Linked DNA regions of Homo sapiens: regions 2, 3, 4, 5, 6 and 7 are each linked to region 1. The links are contacts of gene promoters, found by promoter capture Hi-C in blood cells and fetal thymus (Javierre and others, 2016). All regions are on one chromosome and are shown on one strand. Each heading gives the region's core, a stretch centred on a gene start or on the middle of the fragment in contact. The rest is flanking DNA. Distances are from core to core; before and after follow the strand shown.

Region 1 (2,557 bases), core at 16-2,515:
TCCAATTGCATAAATCCACTCTTTCCCTTTATATGTCTTTTTCATTTCCCCGCATTTTCTCATTGTTCAAAGCCCTACTATTGTTGTAAACAGGGTGGCATTAAGACAAAGGTTTGCTCTTAGAAAAAGTTCAAGAAGGGAGCCCCCAAACTGTCTGACACGTTTAAGTGTCACTTGTAGTAACCATGTATCTCAATGTGATAAGCCAGAAAAAACAACGACTGCCTGTTCCTGGAACTGGGAAGTGGCCATGCCAAGACTTCCAGGAATAACAGTGCATGAATGAAACCACCTGGGAACCAGAGAATCAGCTTGGAGAAGCAGGAACTTTGTCAAATATTTAAAATAATAAGAGCTAACTTTCACTGAGTACTTTCTGTAGCGCCAGGCACTGCTCTAAGAATTTTACATTAATACTCTGTAGCTCATTTAATAGTTACACAATTTCAGAGATGAGGCAATGGAAAGAACATATATAAGAAGAAAGTGGCTGACAGTCCACAGACGTGAAGCAGTAGAGGCCGAATTTAAAGTCGGGGAGCCTGACTGGAGCTAATGGTCTTAGGAACCGTGCTAGATACCGCCACTATCTTTCCTAAGCTGGTATTGTAGAGGGCCTAGCATAGATGTGGGCTCCGGCGGACTTCATTGAATACTTACTGATAAATGACAGCTTGCAGGCTGTATTAACCATTCCTTCTAATAGCCCCACTACGCTGGCACATGCTCCTGAGCCCAGACTCTACCCAGGATTCAGGGCCGCTCTCTACCTGTAAAGCAGTGTAGCTAAGGGGAAGCTGAGCCCCGCAAGGCGTTTTCAGGCAGGGCACCCCTTGTCATTCGAATGGTTCTGGGGTGAGCCCGGGTGCCGCTGGGCCGCCTGGGGCCCCTTGCCGTGTACCTGCTCCACTTCCAGGGTCCCTTTCAGAGGCCTCTTGCATTTCTGGCCCCAACCTTCACCCCACATCCTCCACCCCCAGAGCAGCAAACACAACCTGCGGGCCCTCGCGCCGGTTCCCCACAAGTTGCCCTCCACACCTGACCCCGGCCCTGGCCCCAGCGCAGGCTCCGCGCAGTTCCCGCGCCCAAGTCCCCAGGAGGCGGCAGAGAAAGCCGCCCGCGCACCTCTGGCTGCCGCTGTTTCCGCTCCCGAGCGAGACAAGGTCCAGAGAGCCGGGGCCAGGCGATGGCTTCCTCTTCTGCGCCTCTAGACTGCCGGGCACAGCTGCTGCGCAACCTTCTCAGAAGTCAGCCGGAAAAGGGTCTGGGAGTAACCTTTGCGCCAACACCCGCGGCTCCTGGTTTCGTTTCCTGAATCTTACGTACACAACACGGTTTCCTTTTCCCGGTTCCCGCGCTGGCGCTCGGGGACCCACGAGACTACTGGAGGGTGAAGGAGCTGGAGGAGGGACTGCGCCCACCCCCTGGTGTGAGGCCCCTCCCCTACCCCCGACTTGCTTTCTTGCTCATTGGAGAGACTCCAGAGACGTTTGTCCGGTGGTTAAGGAGAGGAACTGGGACTCCGACACTAACTGGAACTGGAAAGTCATCAGCTGGGGAGTGGCCTCCCCCGGGAACTTTCTTTACTCTGGCTTTGACCTCCATCCCTCGGAAGCCCGTGGCTTTTCAAGGCGAGGGAGTAGAGGCAGCTTAAGACTACAAATGAGGAGGGGCCAAAATTGTTTTTCTTTATGGTGCCTTTTCTTTCTTGCTGTCTTGCTCTTTCTTTCCTTCTATTAAATTATGTGATATTACTTTTTAATTTTTAAGCAGTTATTTGAATGTTTTCGAGCTCACTTTATTTTTTTATAAATATTGTTCCTTTTTAAACTAAAATAGTTTTTATTCTGTGTATTTAAGTTATTTGTATGACATATCCATCAACTCCTATAATTACACATTTCCCCCCTTGGGGCAAGAGCAGCTATAATCTACTTATTTAGCATAAATCCTGAATACCACTATCATTAACTATAGCCCTCATGTTGTACATTAGGTCTTCCCATTTGTTCATCCTACGTGTTTGTAACTTTGTATACTTTTACCTAAATTTCCCCATTTCTCCTGACCCCACTCCAACCTGGATGACCCTGGATAAACCAGTGGTCCCCAACCTTTTTGGCACCAGGGACCAGTTTCACGGAAGAGGATTTTTCCATGGACCAGGGCCGGGTGGCAGACGGTTTCAGGATGATTCAAGCACATTACGTGTATTGCGCACTTTACTTCTATTATTATTACATTGTAATATATAATAAAATAATTATACAACTCACCATAATGTGGAATCAGTGGGAGCCCTGACCTTGTTTTCCTGCAATTAGAAGGTCCCATCTGGGAACGGTGGGAGACAGTGACACCAGAAGTGTGTTGCTTATGTCCAGTCTACTCCGTAATCTTGTTTTGGTTGCTGTCACTGCAGAAAATCCTGCTTCACAAAGATAGCATGTTGGAAATGGAAGCAGACTCTTCAGTGCTTTTGTGGCAATCTCAGGATATCCCACCTTGAGTTTAATCCAGAACATGGGATTTGAAGCTGTCTCAAACATACTTTTAA
Region 2 (2,557 bases), core at 41-2,540, 470 kb before region 1:
TGAAAAAGCAAAGTAAGCCAGTGGATTTGCTTATTAATAAAAACATTAAAAAGAACACCTGTGTAAAAATGGGTAAGAAATAGGCTGGAGGGGTGAGAGGATAACTACCTTCGTATAATAGCCTGCAAAGACCTTCAGTGTAACTGGTGCAATGAACTCCCGGATAAAATGAAGCCATACATTCTCCAGATCAACTTGCTTCATGTGGATATCATCAGTTGGGACATTTTCATAACCACCAGATATACGGCTATCCTAGAAACAACATTAATGACATAATAAGCTGTACTCCACGTGCAATTCCCATTTATATTATAGTATTTTTTTTCAACCACAGATCATAATAGACAATAAAAATAACAGTTGTTCCAATGTGGTATATCATCTGCTTTAACTGTAAAATTATCAAAATAACTTAGGTAACAGCTTTGTCAATGATACAATGACGAAACAAAGTAATGTAAGGTCAGTAGACTCCTTTCCTACTTCTTAAATGTATATGTGAAGTTTAGCTATAAAGTAAATAAAATTGACTTCCTAAGCCCTCACATCCTTTCTTAAAAATGAGTCTTTTTTTACAGTGACCCTTTAGGCAGTCTCAGCTGCTTGATGAGCATACACTTAGCATATCTGCTGTCTGTATTACCAAACACTAAAAACAAGCTTTCCCCGCCCTTCCTCACTTCTATTTGTAACACTCAAAAGTTTTTGAATGATTGCTTTTCATTATTTCATCACCCACTAACTTAAGTTCTTCCTTATACTTTAAGCTTCCCTCTCCCTTATCAGCTCATTACCTGGGGGACATAACCGTGCAGAGGCAGTAATATTCCAGAGTATTCTGCTAAAATGGCATGTCTGTTCTCAGAGGGAAAGAAACACATCTAACCACTGGCAGTAGTATTTCCTGCCAAGTCTTTGACACTGAATGCAAATGCAAAACTGAATTACACCTAAGGCACTCAGATCCCTCCTTCCTATCTTTACACACAAAAACAGTTTTCAGAGCCAGATAACATTTGCCTTAGAATTTTCACCACAGCTCACTGTGAAAACGCAAGGAATAAAAAGTGGCCTTGGAAAAGAGTGACATCACTCTGTAAAGACATGTGTTACCTAACAAACTCTGGCCTGAGGACATCGACCCTTAGGGAACATCCAGTGTAATTACATGCATAAATGAGAAACCCGCCCAAACTAATGAAATTACTTAAGTGTTAAAAAAATTGGTTGGTGGGAGAAGTAGACTGAAATCAGAGCCTTGGCTAGCCAATTTATCTAAGTCTAGAACTCAGAGACATATGAGAAAAAGTATATAACCCCTCCGAATTCTCTGAGTATCTACTTAACCCCCACATACATTTTAGTTCTTAGTGTGAAATTACAACTTACATGATGTTTTCCCCCAGACCATTTGCCGTAATGTTCCATTTCTTCTACCAATTCATCACAGGCTTTTTCAGAAAATATGGGGAACCAAAAGACATCTGGACAGGGCTATAAAATATGCATCATCGTTAGAAGACATAATAACTTCTGTGTCTTAATAGTCTAAAATAGTTATTTTAATATGTGTAAAATAAAAAATCCTGTATGACTAGGAAACATAGTTTTCTGTCATGGTTTATTGACAGTATTTTTTTTCTCATGGTACATAAATAATGGTGCACCTCAGAATTGATGACATCTTACATTCTCAAAAATTAGGTATTAACAATAGTTTTGAACACTAAGCTAAAAGAGAATTCATGTTTCAAAGATGTCTCTGAGAAAAGACTCTTCCAGAAAGACAGCCCAGTTTCTTCCAAAGATAAGCTTTCACTGCAAGAGTTCTACATCAGAGATCTGTCAACAGTTTCTATTTTTAGTGGTTTCAGAAAGCTATGACACATAGGAGCATGCTTTTTAAAAAGGCATGCTTTTAAAATGTTAATTTCTATGTTCTACATTTTACAACTGTATGTTCCTTAATGCTATTTAATCAGTAATTGAATCAAATAAATTTTACCTAAAAGGTAGTTTCTCCACTTTCACATCTTCTGTGAAAGTAGTATTAATAATATTTCTTCTGGAAAATAACAGCAAAATTTTCTATACTTTGTAATCATTAATACAAACCTGTTCAACTATATTTTCAGTGAAAATCTTTGAATAATCACGGTTTATATACTTTTCCTTCCAGTCCTATAAAAAGAAGTACATATTAAAACAAATATCTTTATAAATACTTCACTGAAAAGTATAAAGCATATGCATTTTAGAAATTATTCAACTTATAAATGATTATGTATAGTGGACAAAATAGTAATTTTCAGAAATCACAGTATATAGCCTAATCTTTGCCTGGTTCTGAATATGCTTATGTCATTCTATGAAATACAAAATTTTTATTTATGAAATATTGTACCTCAGGATTTTAAAACTTAAGTAATCTTACAGTGAATAGATTTACACATTTTACAGATGCTCCTTGACTCACGATGGGGTTATGTCCCAATAAACCCGTGGGAGGTTAAAAACACACAGTACCCCGATAAATCCAACATAAAGCTGAAAA
Region 3 (2,557 bases), core at 40-2,539, 410 kb before region 1:
CCTAACAAATTACTAGTAGGGCCAGAAGTAGAACTTCAGAGTTATTCCTCAATGTCATGTGGCCTCCCCTGGTGACAACAGGTTAAGGGCTGAAGCAATCATTGAGTTTTATTATGTTCAGAAAAGAGATAGCAACTTAAGACTTCTATCCTTAGAAAGATCTGCTTGTAAGGTTGGTCCTTGGCAGGCATCTGAAAAGTTGGATTCCATATGGTTTCCAGATGGTCTTCCAATGGGAAGGGTTCCCATCATTCCTAGATAAGATGGCTCACTGTGGCTAAATTATACAAACAATGCGGTTTATGCTGAACACCTGCCTTCCTTCTGGGTGCTTGAAATTTTGGTACAGAGGCTGCCTATGTGACCATTCTCCAGAAAAGTTATGGGCACTGAATCTCTAATGAGCTTCCATGGTAGGTAAACATTTCACACATGTTGTCACAACCAGTTAGTTGCTTGGAGAATTAAGCAGATCTTGTGTGACTTCACTGGAAAAGAACTGTTAGAAGCTTATTCCTGGTTTCCCTGGACCTCACCCATGTGTTTTTTCTCATTGCTGATTTTGCTTTGTATCCTTTCACAATAATAAGTCATAGACATGAGTACAACCATATGCTGAATCCTGTAGGTCCTCCTGGTGAATCACTGAACCCGCAGGTGGTCTTGGGGATGTCCGACATATTATCCTAGCTACAGTCAGAAAGTCTTATCTGAAAGAGGTACTATGGGGATAGTGCATTATGCTGTGTTCTGTACTCAGAGGCGAAGCTAGAGAGATATAAAAATGACTCCAAATGGATTCCAGAAAATAAGTATTTGGTACATAAAGTAATCATACCCTGCTCTTCCACTGACTGAAAGTCATTTCCTTTAATGTGAATTATGACCTCAGGGTCAGTCTAGCAAAGCCCACTTCTTTCATGAAGGAGGAAACCATAATCTAAAGAGAAAACAAGACTTATCCAGGATCCTGCAGTTAAGTGGTAACCAATCTAAGACAACTCGGGATTCACAGTTACTAAAAAACTTGGTTTTCCTAGGTTTCATTGCACACAATTTTGTTGCTTTGTTAAGTACTGAGTCACCAAAAACTATGACGAACTGAAGGCACGAAGTCTAATTTTATTTTGTGGAATTGTTGAAGAGAATTAATTTTATTTTGCAGAACTGTTGAAAAAAATTCAAGACAAAAATTCCTCAAGAGTAATTCACGTCACAATTTCAACAAGAAAAAAAAAACCTAAAAAGGATGTGTCAAGAGACATCCAATGATTTCCTACCATTTTTGTAGAAAAAGAGGGGCAATGGTATGCTTAAAGAAAAAAGTCACTTCCAACCTCTAATGCTACATAGAGGGCATCTTCACACACACTAGCTTTCACATGGATGCCTGGGCTTCCACAGCCCACTCTGGACAATGAACAGACAAACCACAAATTAAGAGAAGTGCTGAAAAGTGGAGGGTAGTATGCAGAATGACTCACCATCCCAGTATGCCCAGGGCTGAGGAGATTCCAGAAATACAGGGCTTTCAGTTTTAAAACTGGAAAAGTCCTAGGCAAACTGGAATGAGTTGGTCACCATAGCAGTATGTGCAGTGGGATGGAGAGGGCAAGTATCGCCAGTTATTTACAGAAAGGCTGTAAGACAAATGGTCCTGGATAGGAGTCATGAAGTTAAAAATAAACTCTTCTAGAACCATAAGGTCCAATACTAACTAGATACCAAATGTAGAAGGATAGATCAAGACTTCCAGAGATAATAGATATGTGAAAGACCAAGGTGCACCGAGACCATCCCCATCCTTTATAGATACTTCAAACCAAACCATGATATATCTTTATCATTCTTTTCAAATAAAAATTTTATACATGCCAACATTAAGAACTTTTTTTTTTAGGTTTCCTGATCATCCCTTTGGATACTCATTTTTTCCAGTGATATACCCACATGTGTGCTTTGGTCTGTTAGGTAACCCAATAGTGAATGTTTGACAAATTTCAAGACAGAACTCAAAGGAATATTATGATCAAGAATTTCTAGTAGCTAGTAACTTTCAAAATGCTATGAAAGCTTCAAGACATTTTTTAAAACATACAGATTATACTGCAAAAAAAATCAAAATTTGTATATTTATGGTCAATAAAACTTGAATAAATATTAGACAAAGATTTGAATTTTAAAATAAAAGCCTGGCTGGATCCGGTAGCTCATGCCTGTAATCCCAGCACTTTGGGAGGCCAAGGTGGGCGGATCATGAGGTCAGGAGATCGAGACCATCCTGGCTATGGTGAAACCCGGTCTCTACTAAAAATACAAAAAAATTAGCCGGGTGTGGTGGCTGGCACCTGTAGTCCCAGCTACTTGGGAAGCTGAGGCAGGAGAATGGCGTGAACCCAGGAGGCGGAGCTTGCAGTGAGCGGAGATCACGCCACTGCATTCCGGCCTGGGCGACAGAGCAAGATTCCGTCTCAAAAAAATAAAAATAAAAGGCTCCATTTTCCTAGTATGAGGTGTAATTTTTAATATAAAATATTGTGGGCTACTCTATAACCAT
Region 4 (2,557 bases), core at 24-2,523, 400 kb before region 1:
CTGTTGAATGCAATAACAATATTAAGATCATGTTAAAAATAATCTTTACCCGTTTCAAATATCTAATAGATATCTAATTATTTATACAGGCAGGCAGGCAGGCAGGCACGCACACACACACACACACACACACACACACACTTTTCACTACAGATGAAACAAACAAAAAAAGACAGAGACAAAATAATGAGCAAAGCACTATACCTAAATACGAAGAATAAATCAGAGGAATGAGAAAAAAATGACTTCAAAGTTTTGAAGTTCAAAGTTAGAGGTCTCTAGTCTCCTTGTATAGTGAGCGCCCTCTGGCTATATCAAGAAAGCAAACACTCCTCTGTACTGTTTCTGCATTTACCCTAGTATTTTAAAAACATCATCCTCAAATTCTTTGTAATACACTTAATCATAATAAAAGAGGAAATAACACAACTCTCCAATAATTCAAAGCACAACAGACTTGTACCTCAATTTATCAGAAATACCAAGTGATATAAAACACATCCATGGTTGCATAATATTACAACATCTATATTTCTGAATCTCTGCTGATTACTGAAGTAACCAGCTGACTTCCTGAAACCAAATAAAAAACAAATTCAGCACTATACACTGTCTCAGTGTATATGTTGCAAGAGGGTCCATGCACACTGGACCATAGGCTGAAAGTCATAGCATGCAAAGAATGGCTGGGATATTCCATTTGTTACGGTTAATATGAAATGCTACAACCACAATAAGCATAATCCACAGAAATAAATCCCAAGGATGAAACTACCCAAACCAAATTTCTGTTCAGGGAAGAATTCAGTGTCACATTTTACATAAGCATAATTTCCCTTGCCAGCACTCAGCAGTGGCTTCTAGTTCAGATTTTTCTGAATTAATTGTGAACTCATTCAAGTCACATATTTTGTAATTTTGTACCACACTTAAAAGCAACTTCCCTTCCTCTATTTCACTGACCCTCTCACTCCCATCACCTCTTCAAACTGAATAGGACTCTTTTTCGAAAGAAGTTTCTACAAACCAAATATGCTTTTAAACTAATTTAAGTGTGGGATATTCTGAGAATTATTAAGAAAAATTCATGTCTTGCATCAATAAAGAATTTAAATCTGGTTATAGAAAATCAGATATAATTATCAATTATAGTTATTTTTTAAGTTTGTGTCTATGGTTCAAAAGTAGACTTCTTAGTTTATCTTTTATCTCAACATGAAAAAAAAATCTCACTTATCCACTCTGCCATAACCCATGGAGCTGACAGTACTGGTGTAACACAGCCATTCAGTGAGAAGGAGCCCGGTTTTTTAGGATATTTACTTGCTGTTTAAAATGTAATACTTCATTTTTTAAAAAAATATGTTTATGCTTGAGGAACATAAAATATCAAGTGATATTAATAAGATAAAAGTTTATCATTTTAATAAACCAAATTTTTCTTCAACCTAATATACTGTACAAAAGACTCAGCTACTGGTATTTATTTGCTTATTCAATAAATAACAGTTAATTTCCAAAACCAACACCCAGGCTAAATACTTCTGTTAATATTTGCTAATCTTACACGTAAAAAACAACTGTATAAGTAACTATATATGTTTTTAAAATTAAGTCACACTCTTTCCCTTCCAGTTGTTCTGCTTGAACTGCTTCCTTCAATTTACATAAAATCCACCTGGAAACAGTAGGAAAAATAGCCAGAAAAAAAAGCAGTGCACACCACCATCTTCTCCAAGGATTAAGTCTCAGAGTGTACCACTCACTAGATATGCTCCATTCTAAAGATGCAAACACATGTAGAACAAATGCTGCTGTGACAATGACCTAGCAAGATATCAAAGAAGTCCAGATTAAAATGTATTCATACTTTCTATTCCTTTCTTAAGGCTCAACAATAACCTCCATGGCTAGTAAACACAAATGTGTACATACACATATACACATATACGTATGCACATAAATACTTTGCTCCCACAAACTGATTTCGTTTTTATTTGCCATGTTTTCAGTTCACTAAATGCAATCATATTTTAAAGATAATTAATGAATCCAAAAGTTGAATCTAGGTATTCTGATGACTATTTATGTAACAAGTTAGAAAAGGGTCCCCAATTTTTAAGTAGCACATACCATAAAACTTCGTTTTAACTTCTACGTAGCCATTAAAAAAAAAATGAGATCATGTTTTTTGCGAGAACATGGATGGAGCTGGAGGCTATTATCCTTAGCAAACTAACACAGGAACAGAAATCCAAATACCGAATATTCTCACTTATATGTGGAAGCTAAATGATGAGAACTCATAAACACAAAGAAAGGAACAACAGATACTGGGCTCAACTTAAGGGTGACAGTGAGAGGAGACAGAGGAGCAAAGAAGATAACTACTGAGTACTGGGCTTAATACCTGGGTGATGAAATAGTCTGTACAACAAACTCCCATTACATGAGTTCACCTGTGTAACAAACCGTCACATGTACCCCTGAACCCTAAATAAAAGTTAAAAAAAAAAGTTACCAGCATAATTGTTATTAATTTATTTGACTTAAAGGT
Region 5 (2,557 bases), core at 19-2,518, 370 kb before region 1:
CATTTTTAAACCAATCGTGCCAGAGGAAAATGATTGCCATTCATGTTTAGCTTCATATCTATCCCTAGAGCTGTAGATGATGTCAGCTCTCTCTGAATCACACAGGAGACAGTTTGATTTGGAAACTTAAACAAAATTTAGGCCCCATGAGCAAGAATTATGAATGGTTGGGTAACCAACATAGTCCATTACCTATTAGTTGACTGCCTACCAAGGAAGATGGTAGATTGGCAGAAGTCTCTTTTCTCTCTCTGTCTTTCTGTTTCTCTATCTCTCTCTCTCTGTCTCTCTCCCCCCCCCAACACACACACACATACATACACACATTCACACTCACAAACATACCATCGCCAATCCTCTGCATGTGTGTCACAATTTTAGTTAGATTAATAGTGTTTGCATGATTGTGGTTGTATAAATAATATTTATTGTTAAGCTAAGTAATCTACCATAATTCAGTTTCCTTTCTTGTATGTTTTCTGCTTTTCCTGGAATTAATAATTGCCTTTTAAATTTATTTACTGTGTACTAAACTATCATTAAATTCTTTATTCAGTTGCTTAGTTTTCTATGTGCCACCACTACATTTTAATTCTTTGGGATAAGCTGTAAAACTTCAACCAATGGGGTCAGTCACATCCAGCAATTTCTTTGTCTTTTGTCTTGGAGATGACTCTCTTAGAGGAAACCTTCATCCTTCTCCTACCTGGATTGATGGAGCTGAAATTCCCATGGGATTTCTCATCATTGTAATCATTGGAATCCCTTAACTTCTCTCCTTTATTAGATCCTCATTCCTGTGATTCATTCCATTGTTTTGGTGGAACACATCCTCCAGTAACTTTCTGAGAAAAAGTTCATGAAATGTAAATGTTTTGAAACTTTTCATGCCTAAAAATCTACTCATTCCACTCTTATAAGTTAAATGCTAGTTTCAGCGAATATAGAACTTTAGATTGTTTTTCACTTTCCTTCAGTATTTCAGATTGTTTTATTGTTACAATGACTTCTGATCAAGCTTGTGTTTACCATCTGTATCTCTTCTCTCTCTCTCTGTCTCCCTCCCTCCCTCTATAATCTTTTGTATTCACAGTATTCTAAAATTCACAGTGACATAATGATGCATTTTGGGGTAAATCTTCTGTCATTCATTGTTTTGTGTATTCAGTGAACCATTTTTTGAAAAATTTTCCACTCCATTTTCTCTATTCTCTCTCCTATATTGATCCTCTAATTTCCTTACCTTCTCTGATTTTTCATTTATTTGCCTTTTTATTCTATTTAGAATATTATTTAAATGTATCTGCCTCTTTCAAATTTTTATTTCATAATTTGAATTTTAGAAGCCGTTTCTTATTTTCTGAATGTTCATCTTTAAATGTCAGTCCATTGTTTTATGAATACACTGTCTTTTAATTCTTCAAGTATAATAGAGTGGTTTTTTTAATCGTTTTCTTCAATTTCATGCCTGCGCTCTGTTTTCTTCAGTTCCTTTGTTTTGGCCACTATATTTATGTGAAAGCTTGCCTCATATGGTCCACTTATCCTTGACTTTCTAGTCAGAAAAGGTGTTTAAAAGATGACAGCTCTATGTGCAAAGGTGGGGTTTGTCAACTGGCGTACATTTTGTAAGGTGATGAGAGAAGAGAACATCTAAACATTTTGTTTGGGGAAGGCTCCCAATGTCAGTATCTTTTGACGCTACCTTTTTTTTTTTTTTTGAGTCAGAGTCTCTCTCTGTCACTCAGGCTGGAGTGCAGTGGCGTGATCTCAGCTCACTGCAGCCTCTGCTTCCTGGGTTCAAGCAATCCTCCTGTCTCAGCCTCCTTAGTAGCTGGGACTACAAGCATGCACCACCACACCCAGCTAATTTTTGTATTTTTAGTAGAAGGGGGTTACACCATGTTGGCCAGGCTGGTCTTGAACTCCTGACCTCAGGTGATCTGCCTACCTTGGCCTCCCAAAGTGCTGGGATTACAGGCATGAGCCACTGCGCCCAGCCTTGATGCAACTTCTCTATAGAAGAAAACTTCGATCTCCTGAATGTAGGGGAAGTATGGCCTTTAAGTTTGGCTGTTATATTCTAGTTCTTGAATAGGGTGGGCTAAAATAATCATGTGGGTCTTACTACTCAGAATGTAGAGATTCATTTAGCTGCCATAATTTTAGTGTGTTACTTTATGTTATATTCATCTTAGGTGAGTTCCTTAGTCAATTCCTTCTATCCTACATACTGCAGACAATAATTCCCCATTTCACTGAAGAGTTGAAGTCAAAGGAGGAATAGTTTTCTGTCTATGCCAGGAGAGACAGAGGATCTGAGGCACAGAGACTTCCTATAAAGACTTTATATTTGGCTTGTGGCCCTATCACATAACTTCACATTCCAACATACATACTAGCTCCAAATTATGAGTCTTTTTCTAACAAGAACTGCTTTGTTTCTTACTGAAATTTTCATCTGCAGGCATACAAATTTCAGCTTCTTGAAACTTGTATATAAAGTCTGAATGATCAACATATTAAACATATATTCTTTAAAAACTGTATCATCAAA
Region 6 (2,557 bases), core at 16-2,515, 360 kb before region 1:
TAAAAAAGATTTTGAACATTAGAATAATTTGAAACTGGGTTTTATTTTTTTCATGCTTAAAATCTCAATGTTATGAAAGATGTTGCTTTAAAATGTTTTAAATCTCTGCTAAATTTTTGCTGTGGCGGCACGGAAACTGGAATAAAAATGGCGATCTGTGTTTTTAGTTCTGGTTTGATTACTAGTTAATTCTCAATGTAATTTTAGACACATAATCTGGGCCTCTCCCACTTCCTTCATTTGTATATTAGAATGTAGAGCAGATGGTCCTTAACACTTCTTCTGATTTTAAAATCCACTGATACTATTCATTAAAATTTATAGATTGGTACTGATAAATTCTTGGATTAAAAAATGAGCATAGTTTAACAAAAAAATCCATGAGCTGGTGCTGCCCCCTATTGTAGCTTGTTTTATTCAGCTTTCTGACATGGAGCGGGGAAAGGCAGCAAAGCGAGATAAATATTTTGTCACTCTACTTGCTTCTCCCTGGCACTCTCTACTTGTTTATTTCTGTAAAATCAAGAGGTTTTAAAATGGTTTGATTTCTAACTATGTTATCTTTTATCTGTTATAATGAAAAAAGTTAAAACTCATGTAAACTATGTTTAGTGATTGTTAACTAAGACAATTTGAGCAACATGTTTTCAAAACTGTTTAAGGAAAAGATTGCTCCTATAATTTCCTAAAATAAATTTGCCTAAGCCTGGGTCATAGAAGAGCTGACACAATTTTAAATAAATGTCTTTTACTTAACAGTAGTACTAGAAATATTAAACATTTTAAGAGAATCTGGAACTCAATAATATGATGATAGATAACTCATCTCAAAGAGAAAATATTTAGTTGTAAGTTAGGTATAACAAATAGTAATAAGTTGCAAGTTTCAATATTATATGATTATATTTATGTTAAAGAATTTTCCTCTGAATATTTCACATAAAAATCATGTGCAGTTTAAAAAAATAGGTCACTCACATTGCTAGCAATGTTGCAAATTAGATAATCTTAAAACCCCTCTTTCCATAGAATATATAAAGTGTGGCTGAAATATAACCAAAGGGCTTTTAGATGCAAAGTGTAGATTTTGGGAGAGTACAAGATTTTAGCAGAAGTTAAAAATAAAGAAAAATTGGAAACGTCTGACTATTAAGCTTAGTCTGGCATTTTCTTTGGCTTCTCAAATGGAAGGAGTCACCAACGTTTATTAGGAAGGGGCTTTGATTTTACCCACCACCATGAGGCTGGAAGTGAGGTCTTGGGCTTAGGCAAGGGTTGATATTAGAAGAGAGACCCCCAGTAAAGTGGAAAGTCTCAAAGGGACACACTCCAGTGTAAAAAGTGAGATAGAAAAATTGGCAAATAGAAATTAAGAGAAAGCTTGATTGTTTTGACCTCTGCTACAGGTAGGGAAAATTTGTTCCCTGAGAATTCATAAACCAGGATATGTCCACATCATTTAGGGGTTCATATTTGAAATACATACATGACTTGGGAAACACCAAACTGAAGAAATAATATAAAAAAATGGTCATCAGCTGGCAACACCACTGAGGCACCAATAGGAGCAAAGGTAAGCCTCTCTGGAGACAGCTACCCTCAGACAAGACTTCTGAGTCTCTTGCGTTTCCCGGTCATAGTCCTAAATTTTAAAACACATGAAGTAGCATGCCACCTTTCTCCTCTATTTCTGTTTCCCTGTATTTCTGGGTTAACAGACAAAGAAACCAAATATTACACAGAGATGAAAGAAAAACAGGGCATAAAAATTTGGAGTGTAGCCTCTGGATGTTTATACCGGTACTATGATGTTTTGGTTACTACAGCTTTGTAATATAATTTGAAGTCAGGTTATGTAATGCCTCCAGCTTTATTCTTTTTGCTTCTCAGTGCTTTGGGCAGTCACATAACGGCTTTGTGGATATACAGCTAGCTGAGTGGCCTTGTGCAAGATACCTAAATCTTCATTTTCTATTTTGTAAAATGGGAATCATTATAGTAATCTAACTCATAGGGTTATGAGAATTAAATGGGTTAATATATGGAAAGTCTTTAGAACTAGAACAGCGTCTGGTTTGTAGGAAGCATTAAATAGAGCTGGCTGGTTTTATAGTCTTCATCATTTTCACTATTGTTATTATAGGTAGTTGCATCATCCCACCTATCTCATGATTAGGTTGCTTTTTCTCCATGTGCCCCAGATGAATGTCCAACATCTGGCCTAGAATTAAATCTTTGGGTAAAGATAGCAATTATATATCCCCAAATTACATGATTTCACAACTGGCTTCTTTGCTGAGGAGCAGTACAAGTAAGAACGGCAAGAAATGTAATAGGCAACTATTAAGCTAGCTAATGGCAGTACATGTTTTCAGAATTTGCAATTTAAGTTTTTTGTTTAGATACTATGTGCAAAGGCATTACCATCTCCCCAGCTCTAGCACCTTCCCCACCCTCATTACACACACTAGTGAACACTCACCACGAACCTGCTCTGGGCAGCTGGGACACAGGATTACAACGATTGGCCTCATCAGATTTCTGGTTGGAACCTTGA
Region 7 (2,557 bases), core at 22-2,521, 320 kb before region 1:
CAGTAGATATGTGTCCCACTGTAAGTCCCTTTTTAATCTTTTTCTGACAATGATAGGAATGTCTATATACATAAATAACAAATATATACATACATATATATATGCAAACACACACACGTATTTATATTTGCCAAATGTTAAACAAAAAAAAATCGAAATAAAGTCCCCCTTTAGGGAAAATAATCACAAAATTCACATTTGAAAATAAAGCATATTCAAATTTATTCACAAAAACTTACCTGACATTTTGAAGAATTCCAATTAATCCTGAAAAATAAAAAATGTTAATGCCTTTAAAATACATACATAATAAATAGTATTGCTACTCAGTAACACAGGTAAGGATTTCTGTAATTTTTTTAACCTCCAGTTACCTTACATTTGTCCCTTCATTAATTAAAAAAATACTTATTGAGCACCTATTATGTACGAGGCACTAATACAGATGTTGAGAGTACAGCAATGAAGCAGACAGACACTCTGCCACCTACTGTGCTGCAGTTTATATTGTAGTAGAATGAGATTTAAAAAAAGTCAAGAAATGTTAAAGTTTAACGTTAGATAGTACAGTTATGAGGAAAACAATGTAACAAGCTTAAGAGAAACACGGATGGTAAGTTCTAGGAGAGTCAGGGAAAGCCTGTCTCAGGAAGTGACCTTTGAGCTGTTTCAACTATGAAAAATAAACATCACACTACAATTGTGGGAAGAGAGTTCCAGGAAGATAGGAAATTAGTGCAAAGGGTCAGAGATGGCAGTGAGCATGGGATACTGAAGGGAGGAAAAGAGAAAGTGGTTTAGGAGTGACTGGGCCACAGTGAGTGAAGCGAACTGAGGTAAGACATGCAGATAAAGGTCTGATCTCATCTGAAGGCCATGGCAAGGGGTTTGGCATTTTTGGTATTTGCAACTGGGAAGTCTGGAGGATTCAGTCGGTGGAGTGATCAGATCTGACCGACATCATACAATGAGAGCAAGAGTAGAAGCAGGGAGCAGTGAGGGATGGCAGCAGCAATCCAGGTGAGAGCTGACACCAGCTTAGATGGGGGAGGTGACACTGCAGGTTAGGAGTGTTCAGAGGCATGATACGGTTTGGAAGCAGGGCCTCCAGGAGTCGCTGATGGACTAAGGTAAAGAGAGGAGTGGAAGAGGGTTCTGAGTCATAGCCCAAGGTAACTGAGTTGACGGTGATCCTATTAACAAAACTAGAGAGGAGGATAGTGGGGGAATAGTGGGGATGGAGGAGGGTAAGAATTGAAAGTTTAGACTGGGGCATGTTTAAGAAGAGACTAAAAGAAGTTAAACATTTAAATTAAAAATATGTATGGGAACATTATGAGAATAACTCAAAGAAGAAGACTAGAAGTTGAGACGAGATTTGAAACAAGGAATGAGGGTGAAGGTAAATTTTTCTGAATTCAGTCAGGCAAAAAAAAGGCTATTATTTGAGAAGGGAATTTCAATATATCTGAATTTCTGAGTTCTGAGTAATGACAAATAACAAAAAGAGTATCAACAAAGGCTATAATTTACTGAATGCTTATCAAGTGTTAGGCAAAGGGCCCAATTCTTTTCACATATCTCTGATTATAACAACTCTCTAATGTGTAAATGGCCAACCCTGCTAAAGGCAAGTGCTTCTAAATCCTAAGCCTATGTACTTTTCAATATGTGATCATGTTCATAAGAATACAGTCATTTGCGTTGTCCAAGTGGAGTAAAAAAGTATCAAGTTAGAGTAGGTCAAAAAAGCATTCAAACAACGTATTAGTGAGTCATCAATATGGACACTGAGCTGACTCAATGAAAACTGCCATGGTACGAGCCAGTATGCAGATTCCCAGCTGAAATGATTGTCTTGCCAAGACGGGTGAAAGTTTAACCAGTCTTGGACCATCTCCACTCACCTCTGGAGCTGGAGTTTGTTGTACGGTGCCCTATGTGTCTCCAAGCTTAAAAAATACATATAAATATATTTTAAAACATATATATTTACTTTTATATAATATATATTATGTAAAAATGTTTTAAATATATATTTAATATATATTATATATTTTTACATTTATATTTTAAATATATTAATATTTAAATATAAAATAATACAAATATATAATAATTATAAATAATAAATATTTATTTATTTATTTATTTATTCTGGGGCATACCAAAAAGTCAGACCCAATTCTGGGCCAGTAAAAGGAGTTCAAGGGGTTAGTCATATTCCTTAATGATGGTAATCCCTGTTGTTAAGGAAAATGACTACAGCTTTCTAGAAATTTAGACACTCCTAGTTATGTACCTGGAAGTGACTCTTGCACATGCACACAGGATATAGACAAGAATGTTCTTGATAACACTATTCATATTTAAAAGAATGAAAACTTGCCTAATGTCCATCAATGGTAGACTGAATAAATAAATTCTGGTACATTCACATGATACAATAATATCCTGTAGTGAAAACAAATTATAGCTGTGCACGTGGACAGAGATGTATCTCAAAATTATAGCACAACAGAAAAAGCAAATCACTGGAGAATACATGTAGTATTGT

Evidence for each region. The method cuts DNA at HindIII sites, captures the fragments that hold promoters and counts their contacts. A CHiCAGO score of 5 or more calls a contact.
Region 2: a contact is called between a fragment that was not itself captured here and the fragment with the promoter of PLSCR1 in region 1, in 3 of 17 cell types (M1 macrophages, megakaryocytes and M0 macrophages). The highest score is 6.1, in M1 macrophages.
Region 3: a contact is called between a fragment that was not itself captured here and the fragment with the promoter of PLSCR1 in region 1, in 1 of 17 cell types (M2 macrophages). The highest score is 5.0, in M2 macrophages.
Region 4: a fragment that was not itself captured here is called in contact with the fragment with the promoter of PLSCR1 in region 1 in 1 of 17 cell types (M0 macrophages); the score reaches 5.7 in M0 macrophages.
Region 5: a contact is called between a fragment that was not itself captured here and the fragment with the promoter of PLSCR1 in region 1, in 2 of 17 cell types (monocytes and M0 macrophages). The highest score is 6.2, in monocytes.
Region 6: a contact is called between a fragment that was not itself captured here and the fragment with the promoter of PLSCR1 in region 1, in 13 of 17 cell types (monocytes, total B cells, naive B cells and 10 more). The highest score is 9.4, in monocytes.
Region 7: a fragment that was not itself captured here is called in contact with the fragment with the promoter of PLSCR1 in region 1 in 13 of 17 cell types (naive CD8 T cells, monocytes, naive B cells and 10 more); the score reaches 12.3 in naive CD8 T cells.

The regions. Positions count from the first base shown.
Region 1 is chr3:146,543,342-146,545,898 of GRCh38, forward strand. PLSCR1 (phospholipid scramblase 1) reads right to left here and starts at 1,266. Exons shown (of 9, transcript NM_021105.3): 1 at 1,126-1,266. RefSeq lists an enhancer at 1,116-1,595. The HindIII fragment of the contact is 8,607 bases long and covers 1-2,557 here.
Region 2 is chr3:146,071,169-146,073,725 of GRCh38, forward strand. It overlaps PLOD2 (procollagen-lysine,2-oxoglutarate 5-dioxygenase 2), which reads right to left. Exons shown (of 20, transcript NM_182943.3): 16 at 2,119-2,184; 17 at 1,393-1,497; 18 at 109-255. Among named protein-coding and RNA genes, the nearest start is that of LNCSRLR, 3.3 kb to the left of the region's middle. The HindIII fragment of the contact is 1,045 bases long and covers 769-1,813 here.
Region 3 is chr3:146,130,703-146,133,259 of GRCh38, forward strand. The region is part of intron 1 of PLOD2 (procollagen-lysine,2-oxoglutarate 5-dioxygenase 2); the gene reads right to left. Among named protein-coding and RNA genes, the nearest start is that of PLOD2, 29 kb to the right of the region's middle. The HindIII fragment of the contact is 1,564 bases long and covers 508-2,071 here.
Region 4 is chr3:146,148,229-146,150,785 of GRCh38, forward strand. All of the region lies in intron 1 of PLOD2 (procollagen-lysine,2-oxoglutarate 5-dioxygenase 2), which reads right to left. Among named protein-coding and RNA genes, the nearest start is that of PLOD2, 12 kb to the right of the region's middle. The HindIII fragment of the contact is 4,995 bases long and covers 1-2,557 here.
Region 5 is chr3:146,170,046-146,172,602 of GRCh38, forward strand. No RefSeq gene overlaps it. Among named protein-coding and RNA genes, the nearest start is that of PLOD2, 10 kb to the left of the region's middle. The HindIII fragment of the contact is 504 bases long and covers 1,017-1,520 here.
Region 6 is chr3:146,187,150-146,189,706 of GRCh38, forward strand. The region is part of intron 1 of LOC105374145 (a long non-coding RNA gene); the gene reads right to left. Among named protein-coding and RNA genes, the nearest start is that of PLOD2, 27 kb to the left of the region's middle. The HindIII fragment of the contact is 226 bases long and covers 1,153-1,378 here.
Region 7 is chr3:146,221,826-146,224,382 of GRCh38, forward strand. It overlaps PLSCR4 (phospholipid scramblase 4), which reads right to left. Exons shown (of 9, transcript NM_020353.3): 2 at 240-267. The coding sequence starts at 246. Among named protein-coding and RNA genes, the nearest start is that of PLSCR4, 28 kb to the right of the region's middle. The HindIII fragment of the contact is 1,358 bases long and covers 593-1,950 here.